Regions from separate parts of the Homo sapiens genome. Here regions 1 and 2 are each linked to region 3. The links are contacts of gene promoters, found by promoter capture Hi-C in blood cells and fetal thymus (Javierre and others, 2016). All regions are on one chromosome and are shown on one strand. Each heading gives the region's core, a stretch centred on a gene start or on the middle of the fragment in contact. The rest is flanking DNA. Distances are from core to core; before and after follow the strand shown. Region 1 holds the start of MAG (myelin associated glycoprotein). Region 2 overlaps HPN-AS1 (HPN antisense RNA 1). Region 3 holds the start of KIRREL2 (kirre like nephrin family adhesion molecule 2).

What was found. The method cuts DNA at HindIII sites, captures the fragments that hold promoters and counts their contacts. A CHiCAGO score of 5 or more calls a contact.
Region 1: a fragment that was not itself captured here is called in contact with the fragment with the promoter of KIRREL2 in region 3 in 1 of 17 cell types (erythroblasts); the score reaches 5.2 in erythroblasts.
Region 2: a fragment that was not itself captured here is called in contact with the fragment with the promoter of KIRREL2 in region 3 in 1 of 17 cell types (M1 macrophages); the score reaches 6.0 in M1 macrophages.

What each region holds. Positions count from the first base shown.
Region 1 is chr19:35,288,716-35,293,182 of GRCh38, reverse strand. MAG (myelin associated glycoprotein) reads right to left here and starts at 1,022. Exons shown (of 11, transcript NM_002361.4): 1 at 979-1,022. The HindIII fragment of the contact is 2,086 bases long and covers 1,752-3,837 here.
Region 2 is chr19:35,083,683-35,087,791 of GRCh38, reverse strand. HPN-AS1 (HPN antisense RNA 1) reads left to right here. Exons shown (of 4, transcript NR_024562.1): 3 at 692-836. It also overlaps the pseudogene LOC100420797. Among named protein-coding and RNA genes, the nearest start is that of HPN-AS1, 21 kb to the left of the region's middle. RefSeq lists enhancers at 1,304-1,413, 1,524-1,573, 2,860-3,674. The HindIII fragment of the contact is 229 bases long and covers 1,544-1,772 here.
Region 3 is chr19:35,854,720-35,859,089 of GRCh38, reverse strand. KIRREL2 (kirre like nephrin family adhesion molecule 2) reads right to left here and starts at 2,179. Exons shown (of 15, transcript NM_199180.4): 1 at 1,910-2,179; 2 at 1,596-1,745; 3 at 533-682; 4 at 226-386. The coding sequence starts at 1,970. The HindIII fragment of the contact is 4,263 bases long and covers 1-4,119 here.

The DNA of each region.
Region 1 (4,467 bases), core at 1,545-4,044, 570 kb after region 3:
GGACACCTGGCCGACGCTGCCCTTGCACCTGTGACAGGAAGGTACAGGAGAGAGATGCAGATGAGGATGAGCACGTGCCCGGGCAGACATGAAACAAGCAGGTAGACCATGCACTCTTAACAGCGGGGAAAACAAGTTCTCGGGATGGGGGCCAAATCAACCTCAGCTATTACAGTGTGTGTGGCCACAGTCCATAAACATATGTACAGCAGATCTGTTGGATTAAAATGCCAAGGGAAGGATGGGATGAGGACAAATGCATCTAAAAAGTTTCTGTAGTTGGGGCCGGGCGCAGTGGCTCACGCCTGTAAACCCAGCACTTTGGAAGGCCAAGTTGGGAGAATCTCTTGTGCCCAGAAGTTTGAGACCAGCCTGGGCAATATAGTGAGAGTCCCGTCTCTTAAAAAAAAAAAAGTAACGAAAAATAAAAAGTGTCCTTAGTGGGGATTAATGAAGAAAAGTCGACTGAGGCTTACAGAGGAAGGTGCATGGGCAGCCATGTGTGTGCACGCACACGCACACACACACACACACACACCTGCTATGTGCCCAGGTGCTAGAATGCAGTCACTAACAGCCCACTGCCCCCATCCACCTCCCAGATTGCAGCCTGCAGGTGTCTGATCACCTGGACATCCTTCCATTCTTCGGCCAGATGCAGACCTCCTCCACCCCATCTGCCCCGCACTCGGGAACCCCAAGGAAACCTCTCCTGCAAAATCTTCACCCACAAGGGGTGCTGAGGGGGGGCCCTTTGTTTTTTCTCTCTGTGGTTTCTTCCCAGAGCCCCATCGCTGCCCCAGCGATGGTCCGAGCCCATCCCCAAAGCAGCCCCAAGCCACACACTCCTGCATCCTAAATCAGTAGCGGTGCACAGCGATGCTCCCTCACCCAGAGCACCTGACCCTGCTCACGTCTGGGTGCCACTGCCCCGGTGCCCTGCTCCCCTTGCCCTGGCCTCCCTGCCACCATACTCACTTGGACTCAGTTGCTTCTGCACCTCTGCTCCGCCAGCCCAGCTCGCAGTCCCCTGCCTTCCAGGGTCTAGGCCCCCACTTGCCAGCCCCTCCCCTCCCCCTGGGTGCCAGGGGCCGCCTGCCTCCAGGGCCCAGCTCCTCCCTACCCCCGGGGGAGGGGGGCACAAAGGGGCCCTTGTCACCACGGGGCTCGGACTGGGCAGCCTGACGCCTGGGTTCTCCTAGCTCTTTCCTGGAGGGGTCGGGAGTGGCTGCCTTGCTCTCTCCCCATCTTCCATCCCTGTACACCCTGATTCTGGGTCCCGGGGGTGGGGGGGCAGTCTAATCTCTTTGGAAGTCCCAGGCTGAGGGACAGAGGCATTGTCCTCAGGGAATCTTGGTGGCAACATTAGGTGGGCAGCAGGAGGAGACAGGTCCTTTCCACCCTCAACGTCAGTGTCACCTCCTCTTGCCATCTGAAATGACCTTCCGTGTTCACCAACTCCTTTCATGAGAACGTGACCTCCACCAGGCCAGAAGCTTCGTCTTGGATATTCTCAATCCATCCTTGCTCGTAGACAAGCTCCTGGCAGGCAGTTGAGCTTAATAAACAGTGTGGGTGGTTGAATGTGTTCCCCAGAGCCCCAGGGCACCTTCAGACTCAAGGCCTGTGCACCTGCTGCTCATTCTTCCTGGAAAGCAGTCCCCACCCCATAGCACTCCCCACTCTGGCACTGGCTGCCGTTCACCCATCCTGTAGGCTCAGCAGCCTGGGTGCCGCTTCCCTGGGAAGCTTTCCCATCTTCGCCCATCAGCCAGGCCCCTCCATTGCAATGCTGTCCTTTCCTTCTGTAGCCTTGGCAGGCTGGCCCGTGTGCACCCTAGGTCTGCCCGCCTCTGCCTCCCACTAACCCAGGAGCTCTCAGAGGCAGGGGCTCACCAGAAACCTATCTGCCTCTCTGTCTGTCATGTGCACCCTTCTGTCCCCGGGGCAGTGCTTGGTGCACATAGGACTGTGCTGACCAAGTTGGGCAAGGACCCTCTGAGTGCAGATTCCACCCCTTGGTCATGACTTTTGCAAGGTGGGTGGGGGCTCGGGGCAGCTGGAGGTGGCGTGACAAAGTGCAGCAGTGATTTCACCATGAGCTGTTCAGCCTCACTGGGACATCTCCTGTCCTCCTTCAGGCCAGAGCAGTGGGGAGGGGGGGTCCTCGCTCTCAAGGGAGAACCCAGGGGGTGAGGGGCGGGGAAATCCCTCAGACCAGGGAGAGAAGCGTTGTGGGGCTGGGGGGGAGTTGGAGGGGGAGGGGGAGTCCCACCCCCACCCCAGGCTTCATGATGTCAGACTCTGCCCGTGCCTTTCCCAGTCCGGGACAAAGGACCATTGAGAGTCGGGCGGGGCTTGAATGCCTGGGTCCTGGAGAAGAGAGGGGCCTGGTGCCTGGGCTTTGGTGGTGGTGGTCGGGGTGACAAGGAGATCCTGGGGGGTATTTGCATGTCACAGCCTTCAGCATCAACACCCACCTAGTTGGAGCTGGAGTCGTGTGCTGGTGCAGTGTGGGGCTCCATCTCCTCCCTGGGTGTGAACTGAAGGCTGTTGCTGGGGAGAGGACAGTGTCCCACAGGAGCACTCGCAATAGTCGCTGACATCAGCAACTCGGGTCTCCAGGAGACCTGTGGGAGCGAGGCGGCTGGAGCCCATGAGAGGAAGGGGCTGGGTGACAGGACCTGTGACTGGCGGGCAGGTGCCCTGTCTAAGGGGACAACTGACCCGCAGATCCAGTGGCCGGTGCTGCCGTATCAGCTGATCTTTTACGAGAGAGCAGGTGTATCAGTTTTCCAGGGCTGTTACAACAAAGTTTCACAAACTGGGTGGCTTAAAAACCGGAATTGAGGCCATGCACGGTGGCTCACACCTGTACTCCCAGTGCTTTGGGAGGCCAAGGCGGGCAGATCACGAGGTCAGGAGATCGAGACCATCATGGCTAACACGGTGAAACCCTGTCTCTACTAAAAATACAAAAAATTAGCCGGGCATGGTGGCAGGCGCCTGTAGTCCCAGCTACTCAGGAGGCTGAGGCAGGAGAATGGCGTGAACCCGGGAGGCGGGGCTGGCAGTGAGCGGAGATTGCGCCACTGCACTCCAGGCTGGGCAACAGAGCAAGACTCCGACTCAAACAAACAAACAAACAAACAAACAAAAAACCCTGCCAGAATTGAGCTTGAATTCCAAGATCAACAAGATCAAGTGCTGGCAGTGTTGGTTCCTTCTGAGGGGTGTGAGGATCTGTTCCGGGCCTTTCTCTGTATGGCATCTTCATCTTCACATTCCCTTCCCCCTGTATTCACCCCTGCCCAGATTTGCCGTTTATTTATTTATTTATTTATTTATTTATTTATTTATTTATGTTTGAGACATAGTATTGCTTTGTCATTTAGGCTGGAATGCAGTGGTGCAATCATACCTTACTGCCACCTCCACCCTCCAGATTCAAGCGACTCTCTTGCTTCAGCCTCTCAATAGTAACTGGGACTACTGGCACTTTTTTTTTTTTTTTTTTTTTTGCTAGAGACAGGGTCTCACTATATTGCCCAGGCTGGTCTTGAATTCCTGATCTCAAGCAGTCCTCCTGTGTTGGCCTCCCAAACTGCTGGGATTACAGGTGTGAGTCACTGTACCCTGTCAGATTTAGGAAACCAGTTATATTGGATTAGGATTCTCCCGTCTCATTTTAACTTGATTACCTCTGTGAAGACCCTGCCTCCAACTAAGGTCACATTCTGAGCTACTAGGCGTTAGGACTTCAATGTGAGTTTTGAATTCCTAGCAGCAGGAATTCAGAATGAAGCTCTCGGCCATGGGGAGCTCTCACTTAAAGCTTAAAGCTCTCATAGATGGGAGCTGAGGCTCAATCCATCCAAGAGCCTTTGCTGCCCTCAGACAATGGTGTCAGCTTCACAACCAGTCCTCCACAGGACTGCAGCTTGCTCAAAATGCAAGGTCAAGGGCCCCGCCTTGCACCTGTGGAATCAGAAATTCTGGAGGCCCAGCTATCTGCAGTTTATTTGTTTATTTGTTTTACAGACATCGTCTCACTGTGTCACCCAGGCTGCAGTGCAGTGGTGCCATCATAGGTCACTGCAGCCTTGAATTCCTGGCCTCAAGTAATCCTCCCGTCTCAGCCTCGTAAACCACTGGGATTATAGGCATGCTCCACCACGCCCAGCCTCATCTGCATTTTATTTTTATTTATTTAATTTTTTTTGAGACAGAGTCTCATTCTGTCACCCAGGCTAGAGTGCAGTGGCAAGGTCTCAGCTCACCTCAGCTTCTGCCTCCCAGGTTCAAGCAATTCTCGTGCCTCAACCTCCCGAGTAGCTGGGACTACACGTGTGCACCACCACACCCAGCTAATTTTTGTATTTTTAGTAGAGACGGGCTTTCACCATGTTGGCCAGGCTGGTCTCGAACTCCTGGCTTCAAGTGATCCTCCAGCCTCAGCTTCCTAAA
Region 2 (4,109 bases), core at 409-2,908, 770 kb after region 3:
TAAAACATTTTTAGATGAAGGAACAAGGACATAACTATAATAGTGACCATCTCTTGTTTTATCCTGTTCTGCATTCATTTCTCCTTTCTCTGGATTTCCCTGAGAACTCACCCCTCCAAAATCAATCCATGTGGTTCACAGAAAGTCAATCCTATCCTAACTTCCAGCACATGACCCAGGCCCAGCCAATCAGCTAGTCCATCAGGGATTCAGGGGTGGTCACATGACTCAAGCTGGGCCAGTGAGGGACACTTTTCCTCCAGTGACATTTGCTAACCTGGCAGCTGTCCTTGTCCCTACAAGGTGGGATGGGATGGTGCCTGTCTGAAAATGAAGGAAAGGAGAGCCCAGAAATTGAGACAGATTTGAGACATATTGTTCAAGCACCTGGGTCCAGCTATGCCTGAATCCATACACCTGTAGATTTTTTTTTTCAATTGTGTAAATCAGTAATTCTTTTTTTTCTTAAGCTGGTCTGAGAGTGTTTCTGTTATATTAGCTGAATGCATCTGATGGATATAGTCAAAAATGGGCATATAATCAGAAAATAGAGGTAAAATGTAGAAATAATGGAGACAGAATAAGTTTTTCCCTTGGGCCTATGGGTTTGGGTGAAGGGTTGGGGTTCCTAGAAACGACACGTCCCAAAGCTGGTGCTTATCTGAGCCATGCCTGGGCTGTCCCTCCGCAGGTGGACCTGGGTCCCATTAACCTGGACAGACACCTCCAAGATGAGCATGAGGGGGCTGCTGGATCTGTTCTCCTTTCACAGCTGTATCCTGAAGAATGGCAGTGAGCCGGAAGAGCCACAGGATTCGGCAAAGACGGACACACAGGTACCTGAGAACTCAACAGTTTTCCCATCAAAGGTGATGATGTGTGAGTGCCCGGCTGCTTGGCAGGTGCCAGGGGAGAATGGGTGGCACCCAAAGATGCCCCTTAGGGTCCCACATCTCTGCCCTGGCCCACAGGAGGAGGGGGAGCAGCACACAGCATGGGTGGAAGCCTCGCAGTGGCAGAATTGCTCACAGTGCTCCCTAGCCCAGAATGGCTCCCCGGCCAGGTGGTATCTGCCCCCCATGGAGCAGCTGCACTGGATGGGGGTCAAGCAGTCCGTGCCACTGAGCACAAATCCTGGGTCACACTGGCAGCCATCCTGGCATGGTGTCAGACAGCTGTCGGGCAGGGCAGGCTCGGTGCAGGAGCTGGGACAGGAGAAGCCACACAGCTCGTAGTGGCTGTCGGGGGGCCAGGTCAGCTCTGGAGGAACACAAGTCATTCAATGCAAGGATGTCAACTCACTGCCCCACGTTCAAATTATGTTCCCTGCTATCTCCCCAGAGCCCAGCTCACGGCAAACCTCAATGGATATTTGTTGGAAGAATTAATGAATGTGTCGAAGCCTTTTCTATAGCACATATTTGTTCAACTTTGGCATCCACTACATGCCGGGAACATCCCAGGGCCTGGGGACACAGCAATGACCAAGACAGAGATCCCTGACCTCATAAAACAGATGTTCTAGGGCAGACGTTGACAAGCTTCACCCTTGGGCCCAAATCTGGCCCTCCACCTGTTTTGGCACAGCCTACAATCTAAATAGTCTTTACATGTTTAAGTGGTTAGAAAAAAAGAAACCAAAAGAGGAAATTTTGTGAGGTGTGAAAATCATGTAAAATTCAAATTCCGGTGTCTATAAATAATGTCTTCATGAAAGCCAGCTCGCCGGTTCGTGTATTGTCTATGACTGTTCTTATGTTACAACAGAAGCTTTGAGTAGTTGTGGCAGAGTGTGGCCCTGAAAGCCTAAAATATTTATTATCTGGCCTTTTATCATAAAAGTGTGCTGGCCTATTCTAGAGGGGGGAAATGGGCGACAAACTAGCAATAAATAAAAGATAATTTTGGATTGAGAAACTGGGTTAGATCTGTGTTACCCAGCTTTAGGTAGCGCAGAGTGGCTGAGCCCCATGGGCTGATTTGAGGACAGTGGCTAGGGAGGCCTCTCTGCAGAGGTGACATTGGAGCTGAGGCCTGAATGATGGAAGGAGCCAGCCGTGTGTACGTCTGGGAAAGAGCATTCCAGGCCGGGGGAACAGCAGATGCAAAGACCCAGGGGTGGGAAGGCATTTGGCGTGGTCCAGGGACAGCAGAGAGGCCAGTGTGGCTGGACCCTCGGTGTGGAGTGAGCTAGACAAAGCCAGTGTAGGAGGAGGCAGGGTGAGCAGAGAGAGGCCGCTGTGGGGGCCTCTTAGGAGGAGGCTTGGAGGTCAGTTTTCATCCCAGAGGTAAGGGGGACCCAGGGATGCTTTTAATCAGGAATCTGATGAGATCTGACCTATGCTTTTTCATTTTTTTTATGTTTTTGAGACAGAGTCTTGCTCTGTCACCCAGGCTGAAGTGCAGTGGCACCATCTTGGCTGACTGCAGCCTCCACCTCCACCTGGGTTCAAGCGATCCTCCCGCCTCAGCCAGTGCACACCACCACACCCAGCTAATTTTTTTTTTTTTTTTTTGTATTTTCAGTAGAGACAAGGTTTCACCATGTTGGTCAGGCTGGTCTTGAACTCCTGACCTCAAGTGATCCACCCACCTCGGCCTCCCAAAGTACTGGAATTACAGGTGTGAGCCACTGTGCCCAGCCCTAACCTATGCTTTTAAATGCCTTATGGTAGGTTCTGGTGACACACTGGTGACCAAGAGAGACCCCATCCCTAACCCTTGTCTTTGGGGGTTTCACAGATCAGGGGAAAAACATACTGGAGGAGAGATTGCTGGGGAGGGTTTTGTGTGTGTGTGTGTGTGTGTGTGTGTGTGTGCGCTGGCGGAGTGGGGGTGTCCCCCAGTCTCAGGATTAATAAAGAAAGTCAGAAAAGGAGAAATGTCCTGGGTGGGATGTGGGAGATATTCCAGCTCAAAGTTCATCTTAATTTGAGCACCCAGAGTCTGGGGGCTGGAGGAGACACCTGCACCCTTCCTGGATGGGTTTCCTGGATTCCTGCTGCCTGGAATGTCCCCCCGCCTCCCCGCTCCCCCAGCCAGCTCGGCTCCCTTTTCCACCACCTTCAGTCTCCACTCCCAGGGCACCTCTCTGCACCCCAGGGAACCCTAACCCCCCAGTTTAATACTGCATGCCCCTTCTCCAGCACTCCCCAGCCCTGCCCCGCCTGACTTACTGTTTAATCACCTACTTACTGGCTGGGTTGACTGATTGTCTTCTCCACTGGAATGTCGCCTCCATGAGGGCAAGGTTTTGTCTGTTTGGGTCACTGCTGTGTCTGCAGCGCCTAGAATGCTGCCTAGCACTTAGTGGGTGTTCAGTTAACCTTAGTCAAAGTGTGTGATGCCCCCGGGGCTTGTCTCTGGCTTTGGGAGGAGGGGTGGGCCAGGCAGGCCAGAGGCCAGAGCACCCACCACCAGTCCCTTGTGTTGGCCTTCGGAGCTTGCAATGGGCTGTTTCCTTTGGACAAAGAGAGGTTTTGTTTGCAAGATGCTGAACTTGCTTCCTGCTCTGAGAGGAGTGAGGGACTAGGGGCAGAGAAAAGGAGTTGCGCCTTGGGGTCCTGGAGGTTAGAGGCCCAGTCCTTCGGGATAAAGTCCTCACTTCTTGCCTGCCATTCAAGGCCCCACAGACACAGCCCAGGACCATGTCTCTCTCCAGGCTCCCCCATCTCTGGCTCAAATTTACACAGTCTCTGGGCTTCTGAAAACCTTGTTCCTTCTCCCTAGAACATTTGGCTTCTCCTTGCTTACCTATTGGCTTTGACTTGTCATTCAAGCCTCAGCTCTCGTGGCCCTTCCTCTGGGAAACTTGGCCTGACTTTCCAGGCTGGGCCAGCCCCTCCTCTGTGCTCCCCTGTGGCCCTACGCTTCCCTCATGTGAGCCCTGATCACTCTGCCGTGGCTGCCCCACCACAGACTCGGCCACCCTGGCAGCGTGTGGGCCCTACGAGGTCAGAGACCCGGCACTTCTCAGTCCTGCCCTGGCCCCTGCATCACCCAGGGCAAGATCAGGCCCAGGGGGACCCCTCCCTGCCACTCCCCAGCTGTGCGGCTCTGTGTCTGCTCTTCATCTGTGAAATGGTCGCGTTGTCCCATTCACACCAAAG
Region 3 (4,370 bases), core at 930-3,429:
GGTTAACTAACTTACTCAAGATCAATCAACTAGCAAGTGGCTGAGACATAATTTGAACCCAGGTAGTCTGGCCCTAGAATCTTTACCCTGCATCATATTTCAAGAGTCCAAACCCATGAACCTCTGCCCTCCCATGTCTTCTTCTCTTCTGGATGAGCCTGTGGTCAGAGTGTAACCCAAGTTTCCCTCAATGGGCAAAGGCTAGCACAGGAATTTGGACCTGACCTGATGGAAGGTGGCTCCATCCAACAGGACCCCATCTCGGAACCACAGCAATTCAGGGGTAGGGCGGGCATCCCCACGGCTCCGACATGTCAGGTTCGCAGGAACTCCAGCAACCAGAGACACAGAGGGGCCGCCCAGCACCTGGGGGGCTTCTGGGGGGACTGCAAGGTGGATTTGGGGTCAGAGATGGATCCTGATCTTCTCAGCTCCAATTGACCATGCCCCTGGGCTCCCTGGGCTCTGCTACTCACAGCTAGTACGGGCTGCCCTCTTGGGCTCCCAGGGGACAAGTGGGCGAGGTCCTTACCCAGCACGTGCAGTTGGGCTGGTCTGGAGCGGAGGCCTGCTTGTGTAGCCTGACATTCATATGATGCTTCATCCTCTAGCTCCACGGGCCTAATGTGGAGGTCATGCTGGCCATTGGCTGCATTCCCTGATATCCAGTACCGGGACCACCCTGGAGTCAGGGAGAAGGCAGTCAGCACACCATGGTTCTGAAATCCTGGCCTCAGGCCTCCATCCCCAGACATCCTCCACCAGAAAACTGGCCCACACATTTGGTGGTAAGACACTATTAAAAAGTGTGTACTGGGCCCAGAGAGACTCTAACTCCCTCCCAACCCAGAGTCACTGCAAACTTAGGGGTAATAAAGTCAGGAAGGAAAGCAAGAAAATGATTGCCATAAAAATTAGGTTAGATACTACTTCTGGAGTGAGGGGGAGGGGGCTATGATAGGGGAAAGGAACACGGGGTCTTCTGGGGAGCTAGCAATGGACTTGGGTATTGGCTGTGTGTGTCTATTTTATTTGGTAAATCTTCCATTTATATTTACTGTACTTTTTTGCATTTATGTTCTCTTTTTTTTTTTTTTTTGAGACAGGGTCTCACCATTGCCTGAAGTGCAGTGGCTTGATCATGGCTCACTGCAGCCTTGAACTCCTAGGCTCAAGCAATCCTACCACCTAAGCCTCCTGAGTAACTGGGACTATAGATGCACACCACCATACCCGGCTAATTTGTTTAAAATATATATATACATTTGTGTAGAGATAAGGTCTTGTTATGTTGCCCAGGCTGGTCTCAAACTCCTGGTTTCAAGCGATCCTCTGGCCTCAACCTCCCAAAGCGTTGGGATTACAGGCGTGAGCCACTGCACCTGGCCTATGTACTATTTTGCAATAACATAATAATTCCCAAACTCCGTGGGTCACCCCCAAAGAAGCAGCTCAAAAATCAGGACTCCTAAATGTTTACCCGAGCCCATCAATTTCCCAAACTTGAAAATGTCAAAATAGAAACTGCAGGTACAGCCGAGCCCAGCAACTCTCCCCCTAGCCAGCCCGTCCCAGCGTGGAGAGAACACTCTTACCTGGTAGGTCCCTTTGGCCCCCTAGGGCCAGCCCACTCTTAGTCCACTGAACTAGCCCCCAGTAGGCGCCCAGAGCACACGGCAGCCGGGCTTCCTCCCCCAGCAGCACCACCAGGTCCTCTGGCTGTTGCAGGAAATGGGGCGACGGGCCTAGGAGAGTTCGGGGCAGCAGGGCTGAGCTTAGCACCTTCAGGGGCCTCCTCATTCAGGACCCAGGAGTCCCAGCCCCCAGCTCCCTTCTCGCTAGTGAAGAGGCAGCCCGCAAGCAACTCCCCACCCCCACCCCATATTCCTCCGCTCCCCTCGTGCGGTACCTGCTCTCCCTCTGAAGCAGAAGAGGAGGACGAGGAGGGCGGGGACCCGCATCCTGAGCATTCGTCCCCCAAGGTTCACGAGATTTGCCGTCGCACTGGCCTTCCCGTCAACTTCTTCCTCTCAAGCACGCCTCCTGTCACCCTGGCCCGGAGCCCCCTTCACGCTCGACTCTTCGCCCAGCCTAGTCTCTGGCCTGGAGTCCTCCAAGTCTGCTCATCCGCAGCCTCTGACGCTCTGAAACGCCTGCCAGTTCCGCGGCCTGGGTCTCTGGGAGACCCCAAGAGGGCCCGATCCCGCTCGCCCCGCCCGGGTCCGCCCCCCGGGAGCTCCGCCCTCTTCCCGTTGAGAAACTCCCGCGGCTGAGACGCGGATGAATGGGGGACGCAGGGCGGGATCCCCCGGCGGGTGGGCGCCCCCAGCTCAATTGGGGTCTGGGAGCCGGAACACCTGGGTTCGAGGAGGGAGGGGGTCCCGGCTGGGTTGGACACCTGCGCCCTGCCGGGGTTGAGGGGCAGGCAAGGGGTGAGGAGGAGGGAAGGGAGAGAGTGGAAGAAACTTGCTCAGCCCAGGTCCTAGAGGGACTGCGCTCAGTGGAAACTGAGCTATAAATGGGAGCTCCTGGGGCCTCGCCAGTTTCCGCGCCCTGGGGGATGCGGGGTCCGGGGCTCCCCCGGGCCTGCGTGTCGGGAAGAGGGCACACCGATACCTGGGGGACAGTTGGGACCCCTACCTCGACTCCCCCAGCCTCAAAACCCCTCCTCAAAATATCCCTCTGTTCCCTTGTTATTGCTGCAAACTACAGCACGTCCTAAGACCCAGGAATCCAGGCCCTCGGCCCCTCCTTTCCCAGGACCCCGCAGTCCCAGCCCAACCCCTCTCCCCACTCGGCCGGCCGGGCCCCTCGGCCTGGTTGCCCGGCGACGGCTGGGAGGCGGCGGTGCCGGGCCGGGGCAGGCAGGGAGGCTGGGAACCGCGCAGCTTGTCCTGACGGCTCCATGCAGCCCAGCTGGGGCGTTCCCACGCTGCGCAGCTGGCCGAGCAGGTGGGAGGGACCCCGAGCAGCCTGAAGGAGGGCTGGGGGGCTGGGACCCTGATCTGACATTCCTGGACCTGTAAGAACTGGAGGGTCCACATTCAGATTCTCCACTGTTCTTAGGCTCAGACTCCGTGTCCCTAAATGGGGGAGTGGGGTTGGGAGTGGGGGTTGGACTTACAGGGTTATAAGGGACTGGTGGTTCAGGCCTTTGCTGGCTGAGACGCTGATGGCCTGATCTCCCGGTTCCTTGAGAGGCTGGAGACTCAAGGTGCACTCAAGTGCATGGTGCACTTGGAAGAGGGTGACAGGGGTCAGAATATCTGGTCTTAAGTCTTAAGAGTCGGTGGATCTATCTGCCAATCTCTCCCCACCCCCACACAGGCCCAGGAGGATTTGGAAATCAGACCGTGAACATCTGTCCTAAGTCCTGTGTGTATGTGTGTGTGTGTGTGTGTGTGTGTGTGTGTGTGTGTGTGTGTGTGTGTGTATGGGGAGGTGCGGGGGTGGGTAGTGTGGCCAGGAGGATCAGAGGCCCAAATTCCCGAGTCCTTGGAGAGAAGGGACTGAGACCCCAGGGTCTGAGAGGGGAGGGATCTGGGGGCCTACACTCCCGGCTTCTGTGTGGCTTATCTAGTGCCTGGATTTTGAAATAGGATGGACATGGGGCTGGAACTCCTGAGTCTTAGGGAGGAACTCAAGTCATGGGGCTGTTTTTCCAGGCACTTGACGCCGCTTCCCCTTCCTGGCTCTCTGGGGCTACGGACATGGAAAGATGGAGAGCCCAAGGTCCCAGGAGCATGCAGAGAAGGAAAACAGCCAAGGTGGAGGGTGGAAGGTTTGTGCTTATTAAAGGCCCCAGCAAGGGACAGCTCCACGCTCTGGCACCTAGGGACACCATCTGGCGAGGGCCCCCAGGACAGAGCCACTCCCCCAGCTCGGCATCCAGCCCATTTCCCAGGGGGTGTAGAGAGCAGTTGGGAGAGGGGAGGTGGGAGGAGGGCAAGGAGTCAAGCATGTGAGGGAAGATGGAAGTCCAGCATCGAGGATGAAGCTGGGGGCTGAGGCCAGATGCCTCATCTTGTTCCTGGGAACGATATTGGCGGGGGTCTTGGGGAGGTAGGGAGAAAACTAGCATTTCCAATTCCCGCAGGAGATAAGCAGGCAGAAGAAGCTTATCCCAGGCAAGTGTATGTGCACGCGGGGAGGGCAGGCCCACCAGCATATGGTTATAAAATCCAGGGATGTGATGAGCAGAGCCACTCGGAGATGGAGAGACACATAAGAGAAAGAGGCGTGGTCAGAGTGTGGCTGAGAACAAATATTTATGGAGCTCCTGGTGTGTGTGAGACAGACTGTGGGGTGAGGGGAGCGACAGAGGTGAGAACAGAGACAGAGAAACAGAATAACAGAGACATATAGAGATG